4 separate regions of the Homo sapiens genome follow, and regions 1, 2 and 3 are each linked to region 4. The links are contacts of gene promoters, found by promoter capture Hi-C in human tissues and cell types (Jung and others, 2019). All regions are on one chromosome and are shown on one strand. Each heading gives the region's core, a stretch centred on a gene start or on the middle of the fragment in contact. The rest is flanking DNA. Distances are from core to core; before and after follow the strand shown. Region 1 overlaps PEAK3 (PEAK family member 3). Region 2 holds the start of RPS15 (ribosomal protein S15). Region 3 holds the start of DAZAP1 (DAZ associated protein 1). Region 4 holds the start of ATP8B3 (ATPase phospholipid transporting 8B3).

Region 1 (3,323 bases), core at 330-2,829, 470 kb after region 4:
AAAGTTAAGCCAGGGAAGAAGATGTTCCTGGGCAATGAGTTCGAAAGCAGATTCCTGGGCCGGGCGCGGTGGCTCACGCCTTCCCAGCACTTTGGGAGGCAGGGGGATCGCTGAGGTCAGGAGTTCGAGACCAGCCTGGCCAACGCAGGGAACGCTCGTCTCTACTAAAAAATGCAAAACTAGCTGGGCGTGGTGGCGCGCCTGTCATCCCAGCTACTTCGGAGGCTGAGGTGAGAGAATCGCTTGAGCCCGGGAGGTGGAGGTTGCAGTGAGCCGAGAACGCGCCACTGCACTCCAGCCTGGGCAACAGAGTGAGACTCTGTCTCAAAAACAAAAAACAAAACAAAAAACACAAAAGCAGATCCCCGGCCAGAGAGGTGTGGGAGGGGTTTTGACAAGAGCTCCAAGGCCATACCCATGGCCCCATACTTTAGAAACATGGTTTCCTGGGTTAACTGCGTTGATTCACGTGTTAGTTGCAAAATAAACAAGTCTAATATGGTCTGGATCTGTGTCCCCACCAAATCTCATTCCCCAGTGTTGGAGGTGGGGTCTGGTGGGAGGCGACTTGGATCTTGGGGGTGGTTTATCATGAATGGCTCAGCACCATCTCCCTTGGCACTGTCGTTGGGATAACGAGTGAGTTCTCGTGAGATCTGGCTGTGTAAAGGTGAGTAGCACCTCCTCCCTCCCTTCCTCCTGCTCCCACCGTGTGAGATGCCTGCTCCCGCCTCGCCTTCCACTATGATTGGAAGCTTCCTGAGGCCTCCCCAGAAGCAGAAGCCACCAGAACCATGAGCCAATTAAGGCCCTTTTCTCTATAAATTACCCAGTCTCCAGTATTCCTTTTTCTTTTCTTTTCTTTTTTCTTCTCTTTTGTTTTTCTTTTTTGAGACAGAGTCTCACTCTGTCGCCCAGGCTGGAGTGCAATAGCCCAATTTTCGAATCTCAGCTCACTGCAACCTCCGCCTCCCAGGTTCAAGTGATTCTCCTGCCTTAGCCTCCAAGTAGCTGGGACTTCAGGTGCGCACCACCGCGCCCGGCTAATTTTTGTATTTTTAGTAGAGATGGGGGTTTCACTATGTTGGCCAGGCTGGTCTCGAACTCCTGACCTCATGATCTGCCCGCCTTGGCCTTCCAAAGTGCTGAGATTACAGGCGTCAGCCACTGTGCTGCCCAGCCTTTTTTTTTTTTTTTAGACGGAGTCTCGCTCTGTCGCCCAGGCTGGAGCGCAGTGGTGCGTTCTCGGCTCACCGCAAGCTCTGCCCCCTGGGTTCATGCCATTCTCCTGCTTCAGCCTCCCAAATAGCTGGGACTACAGGTGCCCACCACCACGCCCGGCTAATTTTTTGTCTTTTTAGTAGAAACAGGGTTTCACCGTGTTAGCCAGGATGGTCTGTATCTCCTGACCTCGTGATCTGCCCGCCTCGGCCTCCCAAAGTGCTGGGATTACAGGTGTGAGCCACTGTGCCCGGCCTTTTTCTTTTTTTTTTTTTTGAGACGGAGTCTCACTCTGTTGCCCAGGCTGGAGTGCAATGGCCCAATCTTGGCTTACTGCAACCTCTGCCTCCCGGGTTCAAGCAATTCTCCTGCCTCAGTCTCCCAAGTAGCTGGGTTTACAGGCGCCCGCCACCACACCTAATTTTTGTATTTTTAGTAGAGGCTGGGTTTCACCATGTTGGCCAGGCTGGTCTTGAACTCCTGACCTCAGCTGATCCGCCCGCCTTGGCCTCCCAAAGTGCTGGGATGACAGGCGTGAGCCACCGCGCCCGGCTCCAGTATTTCTTTACAGCAGTGTGAGAACTGACTCACAGAAAGGCCAAATGAAACAAGCCCTGGGTTATGTCTAAGATGGGGCACTGGGGACACCTCAGAGAGGGTGGGGCTGTGGGGCTCACCTTGGCGACCAGGATGTGCCAGGCGTCCTCGTGCGCGCGCACCACGCGGTAATACAGGGCGTCCCCGCTCTCTGCGCAGGGTGAGCTGTCTAGGAGGCGGAAGCTGTGGCCGGGGTGGCAGGGCCCGGGGTGGCCCCCCATGAGCCGGGCACGGAGCCGGGCATAGATGGTACGGAGGCCCTGCAGCTGCCGCGCAGCCAGTGCAGTGTGCACAGCCTCCGGGCTGTGCAGATCGCGGAGGGAGAGGCCCAGTGGGGCGTCAGCCGGGCCAAAGGTCAGCTCTGCAGGGAGACAGGCTGGTCCCACTGCAGCCTGGCTCTTGTCCACACTGTGGGACCCCAGAAAGGGTCTCCGAGGCGGCTGTACTTGGATGGAGCTGGGATGGAGGGTCCTGCGGGTGGGCAGTGACTGGGTCCGGGTTAGGATCTTCTTGGGCAGGGGTGGGGGCAGGGGCTCTGGGTTGGTGGAGAGGGACCCAGGGGTCCGGAGGCGGCAGGCCTTGGAGGGCAGCAGGTGGGCACGGATCTGACCTGCAGGGAGAGACAGTGGGGGAGGGTTGAGGACAGGCGGAGTGGGAACGGGACACGTGACTCCACCTCTCAGCCTCGGTTTCCCCATCTCTAACATGGAAGTAATGAGGCTGGGCGCCGGTGGCTCATGCTTGTAATCCCAGCACTTAGGAAGGTGGAAGCCGAGGCAGGAGGATCACTGGAACCTAGGGTTTGAGACCAGCCTGGGCAACATAGTGAGACCCTGTCTCTGCAAAAATTTTTTAAAAATTTGCCGGACGCGGCCATGCACAATGGCTCATGCCTGTAATTCCAGCACTTTGGGAGGCCGAGATGGGTGGATCACGAGGTCAGGAGATCGAGACCATCCTGGCTAACACGGTGAAACCCCGTCTTTACTAAAAATACAAAAAATTAGCCGGGCTTGGTGGTGGGCGCCTGTGGTCCCAGCTACTCGGGAGGCTGAGGCAGGAAAATTGTGTGAACTTGAGAAGTGGAGCTTGCAGTGAACCGAGATTGTGCCACTGCACTCCAGCCTGGGCGGCAGAGCTTACAGAAGGGGAAACTGAGGCTTATAGGAGGATGGATCAGTTTCAGAGAGTGATGCCACCCAGCACTCAGCGACTCCCACTTACCTCCGTGGCTTTGCACAAGCGTCTGTCTTGCTTTTTTTCTTTTTTGAAGTCTTGCTCTGTCGCCCAGCCTGGAGTGCAGTGGCACGATCTCGGCTCACTGCAACCTCCGCCTCCTAGGTTCAAGCGATTCTCCTACCTCAGCCTCCCAAGTAGCTGGGACTACAGGTGCCCGCCCGCCACTATGCCCAGCTAATTTTTGTATTTTTAGTAGAGATGGGGTTTCACCATGTTAGCCAGGCTGGTTTCAAACTCCTGACCTCAGGTGATCTGCCTGACTCGGC
Region 2 (2,902 bases), core at 403-2,902, 370 kb before region 4:
CAGCCAAAGAGCAGCACTCACAAAATCAGCTTTCCAGCCAGGACACTCTGCTGCAGGAAAATGGGTAACATGGACGGGCCCGACACATAGGTCCTGTGCTCCTCGGGACGGAGACTCAGCCCTCCCTGAGTACAGTGTAATTGGCTTCCCTTGGGACTGTGGGGACGGCTGGGGAGAGCTCAGCTCCCTGGACAGTGCCACAGCTAAGCTCGGGTTCCCAGAGGTTTTGTGCTTTTTTTTTTTCTTTTTCTTTTTTTTTTTTTTTTTTTTTTTTGAGAAGGAGTCTCTGTCGCCCAGGCTGGAGTGCAGTGGTGCGATCTCAGCTCACTGCAACCTCCGCCTCCCGGGTTCAAGCGGTTCTCCTGCCTCAGCCTCCCAAGGAGCTGGGATTACAGGCACCCACCACCACGCCTGGCTAATTTTTTGTATTTTTAGTAGAGTTAGGGTTGGTCAGCTTGGTCTTGAACTCTTGACCTCAGGTGATCCGCCCGCCTCGGCCTCCCAAAGTGCTGGAATTACAAGCATAAGCCACCACGCCCAGCCAGGTGCCACATCCATAGTTAATAGTCACCTTCAACTTTATACTTAATTCCAGTAAGATACAGAAACATCACTCCTAGGCCAGGCGCGGTGGCTCACGCCTGTAATCCCAGCACTTTGGGAGGCCAAAGCGGGTGGATCACCTGAGGTCAGGAGTTCGAGACCAACATGGCCTGGCCAACATGGAGAAACCGTGTCTTTACTAAAAATACAAAATTAGCCGGGCACGGTAACAGGTGCCTGTAATCCCAGCTACTTGGGAGGCTGAGGCAGGAGAATCGCTTGAACCCAGGAGGCAGAGGTTGCAGTGAGCCGAGATCACACCACTGCACTCCAGCCAGGGCAACAAGAGTGAAACTCTGTCTCAAAAAAAAAAAAAAGTCACTCCTACATAGTTCTAGTTACTCCTTCTCTTTGAGCTATCATTATTCACATTACATTTACATATCTTAACAAACCCAGTGATATTCCTAACTTTATTTTTGAGGCAGGGTCTTGCTCTGTCGCCCAGGCTGGAGTGCCGTTGGCGCGATCACGGCTCACTGCAGCCTTGACCTCCTGGGCTGAAGGCTCAGCCTCCCGAGTAGCTGGGAATTTTTTGTACTTTTTATTCTTTTATGTCCGTGTGTACACAAATTTTTGTATTTTTTTGTAGAGAGGCAGTCTCACTGTGTTGTCCTTACTAACTTTATATACAAAATTTTATCTGTTAAAGCCGGAATGGTTCTTTTCAGCGAGGCCCTGTCCCTGCTCCAGTATCTGTAATGAATTCTCGTGTTCCTCCCACAGTGGGACCTGAACCGCCAAACCGCACCTACGAGCAAACGGTAGGCGCTCCATAAATACTTGTTGATGTGGGTGCCATCGTGTAGATGACGGAGCACGAACCCGAGGCTCAGACAGGGGCGGCGACTTGTCCAAAGTCCCACTCCGTGGAGGAAGCGGCTCTGCAGACCTCAGGCGGCGGCTGCTCTAATCCCTGCAGCCTGTGTTTTGCCCTCCAGACGGCAGAGGGCGCGTGTTCGCCGCCGGGAAAGCGGAAGCGCGTGTGCGCGCACGGCCGAGGGGGCGGGACATGCCGGCAGTCTCGCGATAACTGCGCAGGCGCGGACCAAAGCGATCTCTTCTGAGGATCCGGCAAGATGGTGAGTGTTGCGATTTGGCGCGTCTCTGCCGGGCCTATCCGGCTCCATCCAACCTCTGACCGTCTCGCGGGGGCCGCAGTTCGTCCCCGCGGCTACGGCGGCTTGCTCCCGACCCTGCAGGCGGCTGGATGTTGGGGCGAGGGGCGGACTTGGTGGGTGTCGGGACGACGCGGGGCTGGGAAGGCCTGTCCGGGCCTTCATGTCCGGGTCCTCGTAACCCGGAGCCGCGAGTGATCCCCGGGGACGGGTCGAAGCGGTGTGTCCCTGTCGGGCTTCTGTCCCCGGCGGCGCCGCGCGTCTTCCGCGGTGTCCTCGGGCCCGGTGGCCCCGGGAGATGGGTGTCGGGATCCCGCTGACGCCCGATCCGCGCCCGCACAGGCAGAAGTAGAGCAGAAGAAGAAGCGGACCTTCCGCAAGTTCACCTACCGCGGCGTGGACCTCGACCAGCTGCTGGACATGTCCTAGTAAGGGCGGCCGCGGGGGTCGCGGGCAGGGGCTGGGCCAGCGGTGGGGCTTGTCCGGGTGAGGGCGGCGGGGCGGGGGTCCAAGCGCCTCTGCGGCGGTGGGCGGGCACGGTCTCCGCGCGGGTTTGGAACTGAGTGTGGTCTTGCGCCCAGAAAACTGTCCAGAGACGTTGAGGTTTTTGCTTATTTGCAACCTGCCCCCCGTTGTTCACTTTTCCGCGGCTTAGTTGGAAGGTGTAGCCCCTGTCTGTAGCCCACGTGACTTAGAATAAGGGGCTGCGTTAGACTCCTTAGATTTTAAGGGCGGTGGAGGTCGCTGGGTCCTTTCCAGGCAGGGTGGTGGTGGGCATCTGGCTTGCGCTTTTATTTTTTAATTTTTGATTATTTTGAGGCGGAGTCTCATCCTGTCGCCCAGGCTGGAGTGCAATGGCTCCGTCCCAGCTCACTGCAGCCTCCCACTCCCGGGTTCAAGCGATTCTCTTGCCTCAGCCTCTCGAGTAGCTGGGATTAGAGGGCCCCCCCACCACGTCCGGCTAATTTTTGTATTTTTAGTAGAGACGAGTTTCAGTGTTGCCCAGGCTGGTCTCAAACTCCTGACCTCAGGTGATCCACCTGCCTCGGCCTCCCAAAGTGCTGGGATTACAGGCGTGAACACCGCGCCCGACCTTGATTTTTGATTATTTGTGGAAACAGCGTTTCTCTGTGTCGTCCAGGTTGGTCTTGAACTCCTGGGCTCAAGCGACCCTCCCGCCT
Region 3 (3,315 bases), core at 631-3,130, 400 kb before region 4:
ATTACAGGCATGAGCCACTGCATCCGGCCAGTTTTATTTTAAATGGGGTTTTAGTCCCAGCTACTTGGGAGGCTGAGGAGGGAGGATAGCTGGAGTCCAGGAGTTCAAGGCTGCAGTGAGCTATGACTGCATCATTGCACTCCAGCTTGGGCAACAGAGTGAGAGCCTGTCTCAAAATAAAAGAAAAAAAAGTGTTTTGTACTATTTGTCTGTGATCTTGTTCCTTGTATTTTTTTTTTTTGAGACAGAGTCTTGCCGTGTCGCCCAGGCTGGAGTGTAGTGGCACGATCTCGGCTCACTGCAAGCTCTGCCTCCTGGGTTCAAGCAATTCTACTGCCTCAGCCTCCTGAGTAGCTGGGACTACAGGCGCCTGCCACCATGCCGAGCTAATTTTTTGTACTTTTAGTAGAGACGGGGTTTCACCATGTTAGCCAGGATGGTCTCGATCTCCTGACCTCGTGATCCGCCCACCTTGGCCTCCCAAACTGCTGGGATTCCAGGAGTGAGCCACCATGCTCGGCCCTTTTTTTTCTAAGAGGGAGTCTTGCTCTGTTGCCCAGGTTGGTGTGCAGTGGCGCGATCTCGGCTCACTGCAACCTCTACTTCCTGCCTTCAAGCATTTCTCCGGCCTTAGCTTCCCGAGTAGCTGGGATTACAGGCGCCCACCACCACGCCCGGCTAATTTTCTTTTGTATTTTTAGTAGAGACGGGGTTTCACTATATATGTTGGCTAGGCTGGTCTCGATCTCCTGACCTAAATTGATCCTCGGCCTCCCAAAGTGTTGGGATTATAGGCGTGCGCCACCTCACCCGGCCTTGTTCCTTGTATTTATTTAATTCTGTGATGATGAATAAACCAAACGATCAGGCTGTCAATGTGCTGTGAGATTAAGGAGAAAAGCAGTAGGCAGCACGTACCCGGTTTTACAAAACCCTGCGGGTCACCTGTTTACTACCGTCAGCCTAGACCGGTTTTTCCACCTCCTTCTGCTGACATTGGAGGACGGGTATCATTCTTTTTGGGGGGTCGTCGTGTGCACTGCAGGGTGCTGAGCGGCATGTCTGGTCTGGACCCACTCGATGCCAGCAGCACCCCGCACTCAAGTTGTGACAACCAAAACCGTGTTTTCAGACATTGCCAAGTTATCCCCTAGGGGGCAAAGTCACCCAGAAGAAGAACCACTGATGTATGCAATTAACAGATGCAACTAAAACAGTATTTGGCTATTAATAGTAATAGCACTTGGGGGGGGGGTCAATAATATCTTTTCATAGTCATTGAATTTAGTTAATTGTTTTGATTTGATTCCAGTTCAGCCCCGAACTGGGTGACCTTGGCCAAGTGACTCAGCCTCTCGGACCCTCGGGATCCTCTTCTGTGAAATGCGGACAGGGGAAGGAGCCTCGCGCGGGACGCTCACGTGCCGTTCCCGCTCCGTCCGCCCGCCTGGGGTGCGGGCGGGTACACTCCCACTCCCCGCAGCGCCCCACGCGGCTCCACCGCTTCCGAGTGAAGAGTTAAAGAGGAAGCGGCAGCCGCGCCTGCGCCCACAGTGCCTAGCCCGGAGCGCCGGTCTCGCAAGCGCGCACGCGCACGCAAGCCCGCACGCGCGCGCACGCACGCACGTGGCTCGGCCCGCGCGCATCCTCCCCTTGCAGGGGCGGGGCCAGCGCAGGGACTCCATTTCCCAGCGTGCCCCGCGGCAACGCCAGGAGCCTCCGAGGAGAAAGGAAAACGCGCGACGGCCCCGACTGCGGCGGCGCGAAATCCGCCTCAGGGACGCACGCACAGACGGAGTACCCCTGGACCCGCCCCCGGAGACCCCGTGCGGGAGCGCGCCCGGGCGTGCGCAGGGGCGGCGGCGCGGCGGCGCGGGGACGCGCGGTGACCGTTGGCGCCGAGGGGAGGAGGCAGCCGCCGCCGCCGCCGCCGCCGCCGCCGCCGCCGCCGCCGCCGTTGCGCAGATCCGGGCCGCGGCTGTGGGGAGGGCGACGGAGCGGGTGACCTTCCGGAGGCGGGAGCGAGCGAGGAGGCCCGGGAGCGCCGAGCGTCGCCGCCGCCGCCGCCATGAACAACTCGGGCGCCGACGAGATCGGGTGAGGACGAGCGGCGCGGGCCTGCGTCTCCGCCCCGAGCCCGGCCCGCCGCTCCCCGCCGCCCGGCCTCAGACGCCGCCCCCCGGGGCCGCCCCGTCAAGGTCACGCCGGCCGGGGGCGGACTCGGGACCCGGACTCGCCGCGGCTTCGCGCCGGGGGCCCTGGACGGGTGCCCGGGGTCTGGGGGGGTCCTGGCGCCCCCGCCGCCGCTTCCCGGCTTCCCGTCCTGGGGGATCCTGAAGGAGAGCCTGAGGGGTCCGGGGGGCCCCGCCGCCGCCTCCAGACTTCCTGGTCGGGGGAACCCCGAACGGCAACCTGGGGGGGTGTCCTGGGGCGCCCGTGCCGCCGCTTCCCGACTGCGCGTCCTGAGGGACCCCGAATGGGAGCCAGAGGGGTTCAGGGGCCCCCGCCGCCGCTTCCTGGTTGTGGCGGCCCCGAACGGGAACTTGGGGGGGTCTGGAGCGTCCCCGTTGCCGCCTGTAGGGCTTCCTGGCCTGGGGGACCCCGAATGAGAACCTGAGGGAGTCTGCGGGGAGTCCAGGGCGCCGTCGCCGCCGCCTCCCGGCTTCCTGGCCAGGGGGACCCCAAACTGTGGCGTGGGGGGTGGTCCGGGGCGCCCCCAGCGCGCGCCCAAACTTGGCGGGCGGCGCACGTGGCGAGCCGAGGCGAGGGTTCCGGTTCTGCCACCGCCCAACCTATCCCACTCGGGGCTCCGGGCTCCCCGCTCCCATCCCACCCCCCCAAAGTGGTAAGGTCGGGAGGGGTTCGCAAACCCAGGGCCCAGGGGGCTCGGGTCAGCCGGGGCCTGCTGTGTTTACGTTGCCTCGGCGCCTCCCCGCCGGGGGTGGGCTTGAGCTGCGGAAGGGAGAGTCAGCGCTTCCGAGGCGGCGACGGGCCCGCGGATCTTTGCTGCGCCGAGGCGTCCCCTCCTATAGGAGCCTGACCTGCTCCGGACCCCGCGGGGCCGGGAAACCTCATTTCGCTGTGCCCCAGGGCTCGGCGCCATTCTTTGGTAGGAGCGGCTCCTGCCGCAGCGACGTCGTTTTAGAGTTGCATTCTTCCGGCAAAACAGTCTGGGTTGGGTTTCCTAGTGGTCTGGTGTAAATTTCTCGGTGCCCTTAGCTTTGAGCAGCGCCCTGTGTTCTCAGCGCTGGGCTTGGCTAGTGCGGGAGCGGTTGCTGCTAGAGGGTTGCCTTGGCAGGCGCCTCTCGCACCAGC
Region 4 (3,275 bases), core at 525-3,024:
GATCCACCCGCCTCAGCCTCCCAAAGTGCCGGGATTACAGGGGAGAGCCACCACGCCTGGCCAGCCCTGAACTTCATAATCCCTCCCACCTGCACCGCCCCCTCTGCCCAGGATCAGCACCTGAGTTCCTGTCCTCATCTTGGAGATCTTCTCTCTGGCCGAGGCTGCCCATGCTGGTGGGGCTGTGGGAGAGAAGGGCCCCGGGTCACAGCAGTGACCCCAGCCCTTGCTGGGCACCACTCGGTCTTCAAGGAGCTCACAGCCTAGGGGCCGACCCTCTCAAATGCTACCTCCCACACTCATCTGCAGCCTCCCCGCCAGGCTCTGAATGTCCAGCCATAGGCTGTGTGTCTTGCCTTGGACATCCTGAGACCTAGGGGACCCCAAGATGATCCTCAAACCTGCAACAGCCCATCTGCCAGTGTCCCCCGCCAGCCACCCTGGTCGCCTCCCGCCAGTACAGCCTAGAAGGACTCTACCGCCAGCCATGCCAGCCTCTGGCCATGCCAGCCTCCGGCCACTGCTCCCCACACCTCGCTTTTCCTGAAAGGACCACTCTCACCTCCTCCTGGTTTCACTGACGGCCTCCTGCCCCTCTCCCCATGTGGCACCAGCTTAGGGGCTCAGTCATCTGTTCACTGACTGAATGGGACCCCCGGGCTATATGTTATATCTCAAAACACAGCATGAGGGTCAGGCATGGCCACTCCCCTCCTCACCCCCCCAGGCTGGGCAGCAAACTCTGATGGGGGCGATGGAGGCAGACGGACATCGTCAGAAGATCCTGGAATCTTCTCCACTAGCAGGTTCAGGAATGTGGGTCTGGCTCTAGCCCTGCACCGGGGGCCCTGGTTTGGCCCCCTATGAGGATGGGCAAACCACCCCTAGACGCCAGCAACTGGCCCCCCACCTGCCAGCTCTCTAGCAGTGCCCTCCCCGCCAAGCCCCTGCCCCTGTGTTCCGGCCACCCGATGCACCCGTCCTCACCCTTCTGGTCTCCATTCATACTTCCTAGCCCGGCCAGGCTGGGCCTTGTGCCTCCTCTCAGGTGCCCCTCTGCCTGGGGAGTCTCCCATCCCAGCTCTGATCACCGTCTCACCTCCGCGGATGCCAGCAGGACCTGAGCCTTCCTGAGTCACGTCTGAGTCACCCGTGTCCCCAGGTCCTGGTGGGGCAGGGCTTGGCTCAGGGCCAGCTCTGGTGCTCCTGGGAGTCTGAGCGGGGCCAGTGCCCATTCACCGCATGAGGAAAAGGGAGGTTCAGGGCGAAGAGGGGTTTAGGCTGTGGGACGGGGGAGAGGTGGGGGAGACCCCCGTGGGGGCAGACTGGGGATTGGAGAGTTGGAGAGAATGCTCAAATGGCCAGAATCCACTCGAAGTGTATCTGGGGGCAGAAAGAGACACGGACACAGCGCTGGCTTCCTGCCCCCTCACTAACTGGGATGCCCCATTACTCGGAAGCCCCCCACCCCGTCTTCCCGCAGCCGCAGGGGCACAGGACCGCCCTGGACAGGGCTCCAGAGTCCAGGGCTGTCTGCACCCGCCCCGGGGCCCCGACCGCGCGAACCTCTAGGGGCGCGCTCTCCACCCCCGCCGCCACGACCCCAGCTCTCAGCCTGGGTGGAGCCCAGAGAGGGTGCGCGGGCTCCCGGGGACGCACAGCAGTGGGAGCACCCGCCGCTCACCGGCGCAGGAGAGGCAGGGGGGGGCAGGCCGCGGGCGTCCAGGGCGGCGGACGTGGTGGAACCGTTAGCCCGGTGCCAACGGTCCTGAAACGGGGGGCGGGATCTCGGGGCGGGGCCTCGGGGCCCGGCCAAGGCGAAGGTGGAGCCAGTTCGGACCCCGGAAGGGGGCCGGGGGCGGGGCCTGGAGGGGGTGGGTGGGGCCAAGGCGAAGAAGGGGCGGGGCCTCGAGGGTGGGGCCGAGCGGAGCACGGCCGAGCAGGATGGGGGCCAGGCCTCAGGGACGCGGTCACGGCCGAAGGGCGGGGCCTCGCAGAGCCTCGCAGAACAGGCCGGGATAGAAGACGCTCGGGAGCAGTGCCTGGGTCTGGGGAGGGGCCGGGACTTTGGGGAAGGGACTAGAAGGAAGGCGAGGACGAGCGGGGTCTCGCTGAGCAAAGTCAGAGTAGGGGCGGGGCCAGGACTCAGGGGCTTGGCCAGAGCGGGAAGCGGGGTTGAGCATGGCCTTGCGGAGCAGTGTTATGGTAGGGGCGGGGCTGGGATCCGGAGCCGTTACAAAGGAGGAAGGCGGGGCCGCGCAGAGCAGGGTCAGGGTAGGAGGGCGCTCAGGGTGGGTCCAGGACAGAAGGCAGGGCCTTGGGAGGGCCTTAGGGAGCAGTGCCAGTGCAGGGGCGGAGCCTGAAAGGGAAGAGGGTGTCAGGGCAGGGCCGGGCCGGGCTTGGTCAGGGAGCAGAAAGAACCTGCACCGCAGGGCGGGGTTGGAAGGGTTCTTGGAAAGGTGGGCCTGGGTCAGGTCGGAATGGGCCTTGCAGACCTGACGGGGCTGAGGCTGGTGCGGCCAGCGTGGCAGAGTGCAGGAGGAAGGACCACAGGTAACGGCGGTTATGTAAGTCATGTCTGATCCGTGTCCTGGGTTCGTTCATTCATCCCATACACGTTCAACGAGCGCCTCCTAGGCGCAGATGCAGGGCTGAGCACCAGGCTGGGGAGAGGCGGTTATAGCCATTGAGACCACCCTAAGGCCAAGAGGAAGCCCGCAGGGTTCTTTCCAGCAGGTGGCAGGGGCTCAGGGATCCTTACTGAAGAAGTGGCAGGGGTGAGTTCAGCGACGAGGCTAGGGCGGGTCCAGGCCAGCGATAGGGCCTGGAGCCAGGGTCAGAAAGTGTGTGCGGAGGGGCTGCTGAAGATGAAATGCCCCCAAGAGTGAGGCTACCTGGGGTGAGGGCCCAAAGGGAGAGGCAAACATGGGTGGAGGGGGATAGGGAAGCCACCTCCCCCATCAAAGCGGCAACCACCTGAGGGCTCTCGGTGATCACAAACCCTCTTTCTTTGGAAGCCCAAATTGGAAGCCTGCTTGGCCCTGGAGGCTGCCAGGGAACCTCTCTTTTTTTGGAGACAGAGTCTCACTGTGTCACCCGGGCTGGAGTGCAGTGGTGCGATCAGAGCTCACTGCAGCCTCCACCTCCTGGGCTCAAGCGATCCTCCTGCCTCAGCCTCCAGAGTAGCTGGGACCACAAGCAGGCAGGCAGGCCACTGTGTTTGACTTCTCTCCTTTCATTCCTTCAACACTTCCCCTGTGCTTGCTTGCTTGCTC

The links. Contacts are between HindIII fragments. The study calls those that stand out against the background at their distance.
Region 1: a fragment that was not itself captured here is called in contact with the fragment with the promoter of ATP8B3 in region 4 in 1 of the 25 tissues and cell types used here (spleen).
Region 2: a contact is called between the fragment with the promoter of RPS15 here and the fragment with the promoter of ATP8B3 in region 4, in 3 of the 25 tissues and cell types used here (aorta, dorsolateral prefrontal cortex and lymphoblastoid cells).
Region 3: the fragment with the promoter of DAZAP1 here is called in contact with the fragment with the promoter of ATP8B3 in region 4 in 1 of the 25 tissues and cell types used here (lymphoblastoid cells).

What each region holds. Positions count from the first base shown.
Region 1 is chr19:2,276,686-2,280,008 of GRCh38, forward strand. It overlaps PEAK3 (PEAK family member 3), which reads right to left. Exons shown (of 4, transcript NM_198532.3): 3 at 1,899-2,428. Among named protein-coding and RNA genes, the nearest start is that of PEAK3, 3.8 kb to the right of the region's middle. The HindIII fragment of the contact is 7,382 bases long and covers 1-3,323 here.
Region 2 is chr19:1,436,744-1,439,645 of GRCh38, forward strand. RPS15 (ribosomal protein S15) reads left to right here and starts at 1,653. Exons shown (of 4, transcript NM_001018.5): 1 at 1,653-1,685; 2 at 2,064-2,149. The coding sequence starts at 1,683. RefSeq lists enhancers at 1,398-2,268, 1,677-1,896. The HindIII fragment of the contact is 20,902 bases long and covers 1-2,902 here.
Region 3 is chr19:1,405,706-1,409,020 of GRCh38, forward strand. It overlaps DAZAP1 (DAZ associated protein 1), which reads left to right and starts at 1,881. Exons shown (of 12, transcript NM_018959.4): 1 at 1,881-2,097. The coding sequence starts at 2,069. RefSeq lists silencers at 1,725-1,954, 2,095-2,304, 2,685-2,784. The HindIII fragment of the contact is 8,178 bases long and covers 1-3,315 here.
Region 4 is chr19:1,810,502-1,813,776 of GRCh38, forward strand. ATP8B3 (ATPase phospholipid transporting 8B3) reads right to left here and starts at 1,775. Exons shown (of 29, transcript NM_138813.4): 1 at 1,685-1,775; 2 at 988-1,383; 3 at 121-182. The coding sequence starts at 1,235. RefSeq lists enhancers at 1,283-2,028, 2,409-2,568 and a silencer at 1,489-1,858. The HindIII fragment of the contact is 30,703 bases long and covers 1-3,275 here.